Linked DNA regions of Homo sapiens: regions 1 and 3 are each linked to region 2. Evidence: promoter capture Hi-C in human tissues and cell types (Jung and others, 2019). All regions are on one chromosome and are shown on one strand. The core of a region is centred on a gene start or on the middle of the fragment in contact, and the rest is flanking DNA. Distances in the headings are between cores, read along the strand shown.

Region 1 (4,051 bases), core at 946-3,445, 1.3 Mb before region 2:
CAAGGGCTGAGACTGTACTCTGTCATTTGAGCTCTACCTTCTGGACTTAACTCCCCACCCTGTGGACTTGAGGTTTCTGCCTCCTGAGTCAGCCTACTGACACAGTAGCACACCTGCAGCTGAATAGTTACATAAGAATGTTTCTTGCTTGTAGGCATTTGAAAGTTCTGACGCCCTTTTTCCATTTCAATCTTTATATCTGTCTCCTTTAGTTCAAGATGGCAACCTTTATGCTGATGGAACATTCTCAAGAACCATGTGTGTCTCCTGTGTATGTCCTCAGATTCACTCCATTAGCCAAAGATTTTCTTCATAGAATTTTTTTTCTAGATAATCTCATCCTATTTTTGGATTCTGCTGAGATGACTGACTGAAGAGCTTTATGAGTCACACTCCTAATCATTTCAAAGAGCCTTTTGTGAGACTGAATTCTCTGATCTTTTGATCTTTCTAGGGGATCAGCAAAAAGTTGTCCAGCTCAGTTTATTCTCTAAGGCATGCTTTTCCAATCTCATCCAAGGGGCTTACATTTTAATTGACAATAAATTCCTTAAAGTTAAATATCCAAGTTAATTGCATAATGTTCTGCTTTTTTATTTATCCATATAACTCCAGGATATAATTCTACTAAGCTTTGTGATTCAACATAACAGATATACCCTTTCCGTCGGTTTCCAAACACATATTCCATTTTCTGTTGAGCTGTCGTCATCAGCACCTATAAACTTCATACTTCCACAAATAGTCTGTTGATGAAGATTTAGGTATTCTTTAAGACATGCATGTTTTCTCTACCATGCTTCTCACTTCCTTCTGTGTCCTTGTGCCAGAGTCAGTAAGATTCATATTTCTACTAACAGTAAGTTTAAGGCAATATAGACGTTTTTCTAACATGCTTCTCAAAATTCTTCCAGCTTTTGCCAACTGCCTAATTCCAAAACTATTTCCAAATTTTAAGGTTTTTATTTATTTATTTTACTGTAGCACTTCACTTTTAGGAAATAAAATCAAGTATTTGTTTCTTATTTGTTGCTTTAACAATTACCACAACTTAGAACCTTAATAAACAACAGGAATTTATCTCTGGTTCTGATGTCAGAAATCTGAATGGGTCTCACTGGCCTAAAAATCAAGGCATTTGCAGGGCTGTGTTCCTTTCCTTGGAGGCTGCAGGAGACAAGTCATACCTGGTCTTTTCCGTTCTAGAAGCTGTCCACATTCTTTGGCTTGCTGCCACTTCATCCATCTTCAAAGCCCACAATAGCAGCTGGAGTGTTTCTTACATCCCATCACCCGATCCTGACCCTACTGCCTCCTTCGTTACATACTGAGAAAGCCTTGTAATTACACTGGGTCCTCCCAGATAATCCAAGATAATCTCCCTTTATTAAAGTCAGCTTATTAGCATTATTAATACAACTTTCCACCTTCACATCTCTTTGCCATAGAACTTGACATATTCATAGATTGCAGAAATTAGGACATAGACATCTTGTGGGGAGGGTATATTATCTGGCTACTATACATGGCTTCTAGTTTTTAACAGACTATGAACTCACTGTATGAAAGCTAGGGTCTTGCAGATACTATATTTCTACAGTGTTAGCATAGTGGATCAATAAACAGTTGTTAAATAAGTGTAGGTGGCTAATATCACCTAGTAGAAATCAAGGTCTTCTGTGCATTCACTTTAAGAATATTAACATGAGTTATACTCAAGTAGTTGTAATGGCATGCAAATTATAAAATATAATAGGAAAAATGTTTTGGTCTAGACAAAGAACACTATGGGTTGTTTATAATTCCTTGATTTAGTTTTCAAATAATTAAATAAAAATAAGCCTCAAATTGTCTGCAAATTGTTATGAAAGGAAATGTTTAGGAGAATAAATAGACTCGTCAATATTTTCTTAGGAAAAATATACAGGGCTTTAGTAATTTGAAAAGCATGTTTCTTGAATACAATAATGAGTTAAATGTTAGTCAGAGATTTCAGAAGATTTTACCAAGAAGCCCAGTAACTAAAGACATTGAGATGCATGAAAGTTCAAAATGGAGATTGAGTGTAAGAATTATTTATTTGTTTTGTTTTTGTCATGTTTCTTGAGTTTTTCTCTTGTCAAGTGATACAATTTATCTTTAGGGAAATTTAGTGAGGGGTGTGGGTGCTGGTCATTTGATGATGGGATTCGACATAGAGGTAACCTTAGGACTGACCCAAGCAAGGCCTCTACCATTCCATAAAACAACATTTTGTAGATTAGCCAACAGTCCCACTTCTGGATGGAGCCCTGCTCTGGGGAATCTGAATGTGCATGGAACGAGCTCATTTCTGTGCTGCAACTGAGTGTCTTTCCTGTGTACTGCTGGGATCAGCAGCCCTGAATAGAGGGATGGAGTGGGAGGTGAGCGAAAGGAACCGGCATCACAGGAAAAACCCAAAGAAACCTGGGTGTTAGGGAGCAGGAAAATTCGTGGGAGATCGGCCGGGCATGGTGGCTCACGCCTGTAATCCCACCACTTTGGGAAGCCCAGGCTGGCGGATCACCTGAGGTCGGGAGTTCGAGACCAGCCTGATCAACGTGGAGAAACCCTGTCTCTACTAAAAATACAAAATTAGCCTGGCGTGGTGGCGCATGCTTGTAATCCCAGCAACTAGGGAGGCTGAGGCAGGAGAATTATGTGAACCCGGGAGAAGGAGGTTGTGGTGAGCTGAGATTGCACCACTGCACTCCAGCCTGGGCAACAAGAGCGAAACTCCCTCAAAACAAAAAAAGAAAAAAGAAAGAAAGAAAACAAAATTCGTGGGAGATCTAGGAGAAATAAACTAAAGTTTTCCCCTTGAGTATTTAACATGTGAGCCACAAGTTTCAACTAATGAGAGCACGGTACACACAGAAGACTATGTCAGTAATAATAGGTATTTGAGAAGAACAGGAAATGAATCATGCACTTTAGGCTCAGATGGGTTGAGAAGGCACAATTTTACAATTGAGGTAGAAGGAGAGACGAAAAACCATCCTTTCTTTGGACATTGCGAGTGGAAAAACATTTCAAACAACATGGAGAAGATGAATTTTAAAATCATGTATCAGTTAATGGTGAAACGCGGGTGATATATATAGTATTATCCCTTAATTAAATTTCTTAATATAACCGTACTAAAATTACTTGCAATATGTGATGTAATTAAAGTTATAATCTCAACACTTTGTAGAAGGTGTATCAGCACCGTGCTTATATAACTGATACACAAGTAGTAATTTAATATTTACAGAGTACCTGAACCCAGGCCACACATTTTCTCTAGCACTCTGCTCTCTTGATTTTTAAGTAGAAAGGTTGAAGGAAATAAATTCCAAGGTCTTTTCTAATCTAAGGAAAACATATATCAATAATGGAAATATATCTAGGACCCCATGTGTTCCAATCTCAGATGTACTCTATTTAAAACATAGTCCGGCGATTAGCCGATAAATAAATATAAACACACTTAAGTACTCTTCTTTTCTCCACCTCTCCAGGAAACAAGATGAGGAAGACACCTTTCTTCCTTTTCATGTTTGTTTGTTTGTTTGTTTCTTTTTGAGATGGAGTCTCGCTCTGTGGCCCAGGCTGGAGTGCAATGGCATGATCTCGGCTCACTGCAACCTCCGCCTCCTGGGTTCAAGTGATTCTCCTGCCTCAGCCTCCCGAGTAGCTGGGACTACAGGCACATGCCACCACGACCGGCTAATTTTTCTGTATTTTTAGTAGAGACAGGGTTTCACCGTGTTAGCCACGATGGTCTCCATCTCCTGACCTCGTGATCCGCCGGCTTCAACTTCCCAAAGTGCCGGGATTACAGGCGTGAGCCACCGTGCCCGGCCGGAAGACACTCTTTCTTTATGGGAAACTTCTTAAAAATCTTCCTTTTCCTTTGCCACTGCTTTCAATATTCTCTGCACAGATGGGAGCTAATCCTGGAAATTTTCTCTCCCACTCTCAGCTTTTCTCCTGAACACCCACCTAGACCAAACAAGATTTCTGTCTCTCTTCATTCCTCATCCCT
Region 2 (4,342 bases), core at 449-2,948:
AATAAATTACAGCAGGTACAAATTAAGCCAACTTAATACGCTTTCTGCTACACTTCTTACAGTTTGTGATATTTATACATATTCACATTTTGTGTTAAAAGGGAACACTGATTCCTTAACAACATCTAATTTTCCACAGCGATATATTAAAATAACCACCTGCTTTGACCATAGTCAATCATTCTATTTTTAGCAGCGGACTTTTCTTTACCAAAAATAATGCATACATTTCCAAATCAGCTTGAAATGCAGGTTCCCATGCCAGGCATAATGACAGGCCCTCTAATTATATCAATCCAGGAAGTTCACTCAACTTACAAAGGATAAAAGATTCATCATATAAAAATCATTCTGCTTCCCCCTAATAGAGCACTATGTAAAGACTAATTTTAGTAATAGCAGCAAATTGATTAAAAGTTCAAGTTTCCTATTTAAATTCCTGCTTTTTCTCCTACATAAAAGAATTTTTGCAGGCATTGTCACCATTCTATTTGTGACAAGGCTTGTGGTATGTCTAGCATTATAGGTATTCAATTAAGAACTATTATCACAGCACTAAGCAACAGGGCTGGGCTTCTGAAAACAGGTAAGTGGAAGTAATGGAGACCTAGAGAGGACACAGGACATAGTTCTGGAGATTCAGGGGGAAAAAACAAGTAGTTCAACTAGTATGTAATAGACTCCCTTTGTGTGCTTAAACATAGACCATTGGTTTATTAGAAGGCAAAATATGCATGACTTTCCCTATTTATAAATCAAGGAGTCTTACAAGCAGAAAGATAATCCTCAAGAATGTAAACCATTCTTGGCATTATCCCTCCATCTGTAAACTAACTGCAGTGATGGGTACACAGCTAGGGAACAGCTCACGATATAATGAGAGGGATTTCATAAGGTACCATTATGCATGCTGATACTTCTGATGCACTGGCTCATTTTACTTCTTCACGCTGAAGATGCTTCTGGAAAGCAGATGAGCAAGACCTGGCAATGTAGATGGCAACTTAGCCTTGACGTTGGAGGTGCAGAAAGTGCTGCCCCCCACCCGCCAGACCAACCTGCCTGCCCGAGGTATCTGCTTGGGGGATGAGGGTGTCAACTGATAAGGTTTTGATGAACAGACTCTACTTCCCTAAGTTGTAAGGTCATGAAAAACACGAAGGGAGATTCTTGGTTACAGAAGAGCGAAAATACGAAGGCAGGGGCGGAGCACACGTGAATTTAGGGCACGCATCCCGGAGAAACGACCTCTTGGACCTGCACCTGTCCTGGCAGGTGCGCGCATCCCCGGCCACAGGCGCCGCAAGAAAAAATATTTCCCCGAGAGGCTACTCTATTTGTGTCATAACTTAGGGTACCCCACGTTGCAGGGTAGAAAGGATTTCCTCCGGTCGTTCTTCCATACCCTTCTCACGTTGAAGACGGCCACGGGCCTTGCGCCAAGCTGGACGAATAAAATACACGGTGAAGAGAGCGGGGCCGCGCAGTGACGGGCTTCCCGCCAGGGGACCCCACCCGCAGGCCCTACAGTCACCTGCACCCAAAGGCCCTGGCGCGCCCCCGGGCCGCGCCACCGCCCCTGCTGGGCCCGCGCAGCGTCTGGAGGCCGAGCCAGTGCTGCTGCAAGATCCGACCGCGTCCAGTCGCCATAGAGACAAGGAGTTCACCACAGGACCGCGCCAGGGCTGAAACGAAGAGTGCACGCACCGCCCCCACGCCCGCACGTCGCCACACCCCTTATGCGCATGCGCGCGTGAGCAAAAGTAACGGTATGCCCACCCTTGCGCAGACGGCACCGCGCCAGACACCCGCTCACAGAGCGGGCTTCTAGAAACTTCCGGGCCTCGGCTTCCTTACCCACCCCTAACATTCTGCCGCCTAGGGCGCCAAGCCAAGTTCGCGGCTTAACCATTTAGGAAACCGGTGCCTGCTTTGCAGCGGCCTCGTTCATCCCCACTTGCTGACTCTTTATTGTCCAGTTTTTCTGAAAACACAGTAAAACGCAAAAACTAAATCATTTGCCCACGCGGAATTGGCAAGACCACAGTCCAAGGGGGTATTTCCCACTGTGCACAGTCCTCTCTATAAGGATCAGGAAAACACGTAGATTGTAACTGCTAATTTGGCTTTTGCAAGTCCCGCCTGAACCACGTAGGGTGGGTGGTACCAATTCCCCCACCAACACCCCACTTTCCGCCGCTCCAGGGACGCGCAGCGTCTGCGCCGACGCTGGGCGCGGAGGCGTCTGGGGGCGCGGGAAGGACCTGCGCCGTGCTCTGGCCGCCTTGAATTGTGGGAGATGTAGTCTCTTTTGCGCGCCTCTTTGCCGTATCCCAGTTAAGAGCGAGGTTTTCAAACTACTATTCCCAGGAAGACGGGGGTTTCCCAGGTGACTTTGCGAAGGCATGGCGGGGACACTGTGAATGTCAGCCCAGAAGGTGATCAGAGCCTGTTAATTAAAATGGAAAGAAGACAGAAGGGAAGGTAGACATCAGGTTCTCCCTGGAGACTTTTCGTTTTCATTTACGCTGCGGAAACTGACGTTTTTGCCTAACACCCCATGTAATGTAAACGTATAGGCTTGAGTACGTGTCCGGCCGCATGTGTAGTGAACCCTAAAGCTTTCCTAATTGTAGTTAGCATCGTCCCTAAGCGGAACGATTTTCCGTGAACATGATTTGTACTTTTCTACGAGCCGTACAGTATACGGAGAAGCTGCACAGGTCCTCGGCAAAGCGATTGCTTTTGCCATACATCGTGCTTAACAAAGCGTGCTTGAAGACTGAGCCCAGTTTGAGATGTGGGCTTCAATATCAAAAGAAAACGCTGCGACCTAGATGTATTCTTGGAGTCACCCAGAAAACCATCTGGACGCAGGGACCGAGCCCCCGAAAAGCAAAGGAGGATGGCAGCAAACAAGTGTCTGTGCACAGGAGTCAGAGAGGGGGAACCGCCGTCCCAACATCACAAAAAGGTAAAAAGGAGTACTTTAATGATTGGGCTTTCAACAGACATGACAAGAGCTGCCAATGCCCTTTTATACCAAGTTCACTGCTAAAGGTGAAAAAGCAATTCACATGAATTTTTAAAAACCGTTTAAACATAATTTAGAACTAGAACATATAGATCTACAGTTTTCTTCACAGATTGGAACTCAGATGTGAAAGTTGATCTTGAATTTGATATAACTTTTTTTCATTATGTTTGGGAAATTTTTCTCAAGTTATATTGGCTCTGTTACATATAATAAAGAGTAATTGGATAGGATAAAAAGAGAGAGAGAGAGATTATTGACTCATAACTGGTAGGGAAAACTTTCACATGTTACCTGCAGTAATAGAAAAACATAAAATAGGGAGGATGGAATGTAAGTTGTCAGGGAAAGTCAGAGATGTATTCACAGATATTTTAAGATTTTTTTTTAATGTCTTCATTTCGCATGTGATTTGTAGGAAAAAAAAAGACAAAGCAATTTAGACCGCCATGATTATACCACACGAAGATGACTATTTTTAACATTTTGCACTTTCATACACATACCTTTTAATAATTTTTAACCCAAAAAATTGGATCATACCAATTGTTTTAGAGTCTGCTGACTATGCCAAAAACCTAGCTTTTCATTCATACTAGTTCAGCACGAAGGAACAACCTGTATGCAGAGGTGAAAGGCATAGAAGTGGCAAACAGCATGTGCATCAGGTCATCTGGCTCAGGCAACAGTGCTCATGCTTGCACTGCACACCAGGCCTGCTTAGGGACCCCTTCCCTCATCTGCACCCCATTCAGACGTGACAGTCCTTGTGGCTGAGTGAATTGATGGGAGCAACATTCCCAAATATGGAATATGCTGCGTCCAGAATTCAAACAGGCCTATGAAGCATTGTGGTAGGAGGTATAGGGTACAATTGTCTTTTACTTGGGAGGGCATGTCTTGGCACGCCCCAGTGTAGCCCCACGAGGTCGGCTCATGTGTTGATGAGCCTCTGCATCTTTGTTGGACCCACCTCTCACACTTGCAGCTTCTCTGACCAAGCCTTCTAACACACTTGCCACTTGTTACTTATGGGCTCTAACATGATGGCATAAATATAGTAGACAAATGTGATATTCTCCTGAATGTCCAGAACAGCATTATTCAAATAAAACTTTCTGCATAGAAATGTCCTATATCTGTGCTGTCCATTTGGGTAGTTCCTGGCCACTTGTAGCTATTTTGAGCACTTGAAATGTTGCTAAAACTTGTGACTGAAGAACTGAATTGATTTAATTTTAATTAATTTAAAATTGAACTGAAATAGCCATGAGTGGCAAGTGGCTACTGTATTAGACAGCCCAGGTC
Region 3 (4,335 bases), core at 1,093-3,592, 1.3 Mb before region 2:
GTGCCATCCTGGAAGATGGTGCTTTGTCGCAGTTCCCCAAGGTTAGCATTGAAATAGTGACTACTATAGAAGATGGTGCAGAATTAAAGCCACTTGAACCCAATGAAGGTGTCATTAGTAAGTTGGTTTTATTTCTCAGCTTGCAGCTTCCTAACAATGAAAGATCATATGGACTTCCAAAATCCTAAAAAGAATTGGCGTAGGGTACAAGCCCTTCTAATTCAAATGCACATAGTATTTGTCTACATACATGTACTTCTCTATAGGAAAAAATAAAGCTACAGTTCTACCAGGGCTCCTTTGTTAATTAATCTCCAGTACTGGCATCATCTTAAAAGTTGTCTATCAGTAAAAGAGGTGATGCTACAAAAAATAACTCAAATGTAATAGTGCTAATGACACATCCATATTACAATAATATTTTCTGATTTTTACATAATTTATTTACATGGTTGTGAAGTGTAAAGGTTTTTGCATTTAACAATATATGTCATAATACTAGTTTCTCAAAAACAAGTAATTTGCTGGTAAATATAGGAATGTTTTTTGAAAATTCTCTGAAATAGTCTAACATGAAGCTGGTTTTAAGCAATATTGAAGAAGCTCTCTTCAAAAAATCTATAGGAGTATCCTAACGCAGTAGAAAGTCTCCACGAAATAGAAGACCTGTCAAAATCTCTGAAATCTTACATTTAAACCAAACAGGATATTTTATGATCACCACTAGGGAAAAATAAAATATAGTTTTGTTAGAAGTACAAATATATTGTATTCTTAGGCAGCACAAGAATGTTTGCCTCTTGTGGGAAAGAACTTTCATAGCACTTCCTTTGCCAGTTAGCACTTTCAGATACATGATCCTTCAATCCATATCAAAACTTCAGAAAAAAAATTTTCATTTTGATTGATATTTACTTCGCAGTGGCTTATAAAAATAATACCAATTATTTTTATGATCACTCGACTAATTATAAGCTCATCCTCTATAAATCAACATAAACTTCAGGAACATTTACGAAGATACACCCCAAGATTAAAAGTGTAAAGGCTCTGTACAGAAGCCACCTTTATAGTATAAGTATTGTACCACAAAGTCCACGCACTGCTATTTCAGGGAAAAAACAAGTTTCCACTCCTAGAAGACGGCATATTTGGAAAATATAAGCTAAACTAAAGGGTAAATCTACATATTCCATGTCAAAATAACCATTAATAAATACAAACAAAATGTTACTTCAGTGTGCTAAATCAGACATGTGAAAGTTTCTCATGGGTTAGACATACTTTGTGTGTGCGTGTGTGTGTGTGCGTGTGTGTGTGTGTTGAAGTCTCGCCCTGTTGCTCAGGCTGGAATGAGGTGGCACGATCTCGGCTCACTACAACCTCTGCTCCCTGGGTTCAAGCCTGCCACAACCTCCAGAGTAGCTGGGATTACAGGTGTGCGCCACCACGCCCGCACAATTTTTTTTTATATTTTTAGTAGAAACAGGGTTTTGCCATGTTGGCCATGCTGGTCTCAAACTCCTACCATCAGGTGATCAGCCCGCCTCAGCCTCCCAAAGTGCTGGGATTACAGGTGTGAGCCACAGCGCCCAGCCTTTTTTCATAATTATATAAGTTAATAGCATCACATAAACTTAATAACTTTGGCTATTTAGCACATACTTTAATCTTATTATGATATATTATTATGTGGATTTGGAAACTAACAAAAGCCATGATTTGCTTGGTGAAAGTAACCCTGGATGTTAAGGTAGGACTTAACATCCAGGACTTACCTGACTTAAATACATTTTGAGGAGAGTACCAAGCTTTTGTGCATGAAGGGAAATGTTAAATGAAAATCTTCCTTTTTTAAACACTAATTACCTGATTTACCTATTCTTTCTTTGAGTGTCCATTCTCTGTTATAATTAATATGTGTAAGGAAATGTCCTACCATGTTTCCATTTACATTTGCAAGACAAGATATGAAACATAAACTAACTTTGTTTTCAGTTTTAGGTTAGATAAATTTACAAATAATATATTTTCAGAAAGTAGCAATGTATATAGCAGCAGAATTTTTGCCAAATAGTTATAGTTACAATAATTTTCAAAAATTAAGGCAAAATATATTTTACTTTTTAGTAAATTATTATTTAAATATTCTCTATTATAGTTTTATAATTGATAGATGCAGTTAATTTTTGGTATATATATTTTTTCTTTTCTTTTCTTTTCTTTTTTTTTTTTTTTTTGAGACTGAGTCTTGCTCTGTCACCCAGACTGGAGTGCAGTGGCGCGATCTTGGCTCACTGCAACCTCCACCTCCCGGGTTCCAGTGATTCTCCTGCCTCAGCCTCCCAAGTAGCTGGCACGTACCACAATACCTGGCCACTTTTTGTATTTTTATTAGAGACGGGGTTTCACCATATTGGCCAGGCTGGTCTTGAACTCCTGTTCTCAGGTGATCCACCTGCTTCGGCCTCCCAAAGTGCTGGGATTACAGGCGTGAGCCACAAGCAATCGATAATTCACCACAATTTCCAACACGCTCACTAACTCCCTGACACTATGTAGGAAATATCCAGCCAGGCGCAGTGGCTCATGTCTGTAATCCCAGCACTTTGGGAGGCCAAGGTGGGTGGATCACTTGAGGTCAGGAGTTCGAGACCAGCCTGGCTAACATGGTAAAACCCTGTCTCTGCTAAAAATACAAAAATTAGCTGGGTGTGCTGGTGCATGCCTGTAGTCCCAGCTACTTGGAAGGCTGTGGCAGGCGAATTGCTTAAACCTGGGAGGTAGAGGTTGTAGTGAGCCGAGATCACACCACTGCACTCCAGTGTAGGCAACAGAGCAAGACTCCGCCTCAGAAAAAAAAAGGGGTGGTAGGGGGGGAATATCCACACTACTTTCCATTTCATTTGCACTAATATGAAGTTTTGCATCTCTATCAAAACTCTTAAGACACCAGTTTTTACTAATTAGCACACAGGATATAGTTGTGATTTGTTAGGTCTTACTTGCCCTGCCTATGTATGTATTTCCGTTGGCAATCCTTGATCTTATCGTATCTTATCATTTTTTAAATGAAGAAAATGAGGCCAAAAGAAGTGCAGTGATTTCTATAATGCCACTTTTTTTGGTAACTCCATAACTGATAGAATCCAAGACCTTCTACCATACTGGGGAGGGGGGCGAGGTGGGCCGGGGGGGGAAGCTACATAGATGATTTCACCGGAGTTCAAGGGAAAGCCCTCATTCTTTCTGCATGTTGCCAGTCACTCACTTCTAGCCAGAGTGTGAGTGCCTCGAGGCCACTGCCAAATGTAATAAGCTTTATGACAGTTGATCCCAAAAAGAAAAGAAAAAAATATATTAAAAAAGGGCAATTATCGGGGAAAAATAAAGCAAATTCATTGTAGGGAACTGCACAGGGATCAGAAATCCCATGGCATGAAGATGGTAAAAATGAGAGAGAGCAGAGATTATCAAGTTATTGAAAGTCTTACTGGAATCACACACATTTATAGACACACATGCAGTATAAGGAGAGAATAGATGAGTAGAAAGGGAATATAATATCCTAGCTGAATAATAATAACTTGACCTCCTAGAAAAGCGACAGTTCCTTAATACGATGTTAAATCCTTAATGTTAAAACATGATGTGTAGAAGTTGAGAGCATTGAAGTCAAGAACATTTTGTTTGAATACCAGGTCTATCAGTTACTAGGTATATAATAATTACTTAAACTTTCTTAGCCTATGCGCTCTCCTCTGTAAGACAGTCCTAATAACACATAGGACTATTTAAGAGTTTAAATGGGAAGACATCAAAAGCACTGAGCACAGTGGTAGCATATATAAATAAATATTTATGTTTTGTTAACACGGTCAGTACTGCCCATGATTGTGAACAGCAGCATATGGAAGCTGTTCCATGCAAGCCTAGAGATGGCTAATATCCATATCTATAAGTGTACCCAGAACTATGCAGGTACCTATACCTACTTCAATATCTATGTCTACACCTATATTTGTATTTATGTCTCTATCTGCATCATCAAGCATATGTCTTTTATAGTTTAATATAACAATGCTGATAGAGACCTAAGTCAAGAAAGGTTCATATGCCTCAAAGCCAAGCTCAATAACCAATACGAAAAATGTGAAAATCTCTGTAGGAAACAGAAGAATCGTGTCCTTGGTGGAGGAAACTGGAGAAGGCTAAGGGCTATAAGTGGGGACGTTCTGAGAGATAGTTCTGTAATAATGCCATCTCAGAGTGATAAGGGTAAAGTAATAACGAAAAAGGAAAAGGAATATTTCAACTTAATGATATTTCATAATA

Evidence for each region. The method cuts DNA at HindIII sites, captures the fragments that hold promoters and counts their contacts. A contact is called where the count stands out against the background at its distance.
Region 1: a fragment that was not itself captured here is called in contact with the fragment with the promoter of FBXO15 in region 2 in 1 of the 25 tissues and cell types used here (dorsolateral prefrontal cortex).
Region 3: a contact is called between a fragment that was not itself captured here and the fragment with the promoter of FBXO15 in region 2, in 1 of the 25 tissues and cell types used here (dorsolateral prefrontal cortex).

The regions. Positions count from the first base shown.
Region 1 is chr18:72,848,646-72,852,696 of GRCh38, forward strand. The region is part of intron 4 of NETO1 (neuropilin and tolloid like 1); the gene reads right to left. Among named protein-coding and RNA genes, the nearest start is that of MIR548AV, 2.7 kb to the right of the region's middle. RefSeq lists an enhancer at 1-375. The HindIII fragment of the contact is 7,607 bases long and covers 1-4,051 here.
Region 2 is chr18:74,146,136-74,150,477 of GRCh38, forward strand. FBXO15 (F-box protein 15) reads right to left here and starts at 1,699. Exons shown (of 10, transcript NM_001142958.2): 1 at 1,535-1,699. The coding sequence starts at 1,650. It overlaps TIMM21 (translocase of inner mitochondrial membrane 21), which reads left to right and starts at 2,388. Exons shown (of 6, transcript NM_014177.3): 1 at 2,388-2,974. The coding sequence starts at 2,674. RefSeq lists a silencer at 1,429-1,578 and enhancers at 2,269-2,388, 2,419-2,468, 2,549-2,638. The HindIII fragment of the contact is 7,122 bases long and covers 1-4,342 here.
Region 3 is chr18:72,871,472-72,875,806 of GRCh38, forward strand. The region is part of intron 1 of NETO1-DT (NETO1 divergent transcript); the gene reads left to right. Among named protein-coding and RNA genes, the nearest start is that of NETO1-DT, 5.3 kb to the left of the region's middle. The HindIII fragment of the contact is 4,400 bases long and covers 143-4,335 here.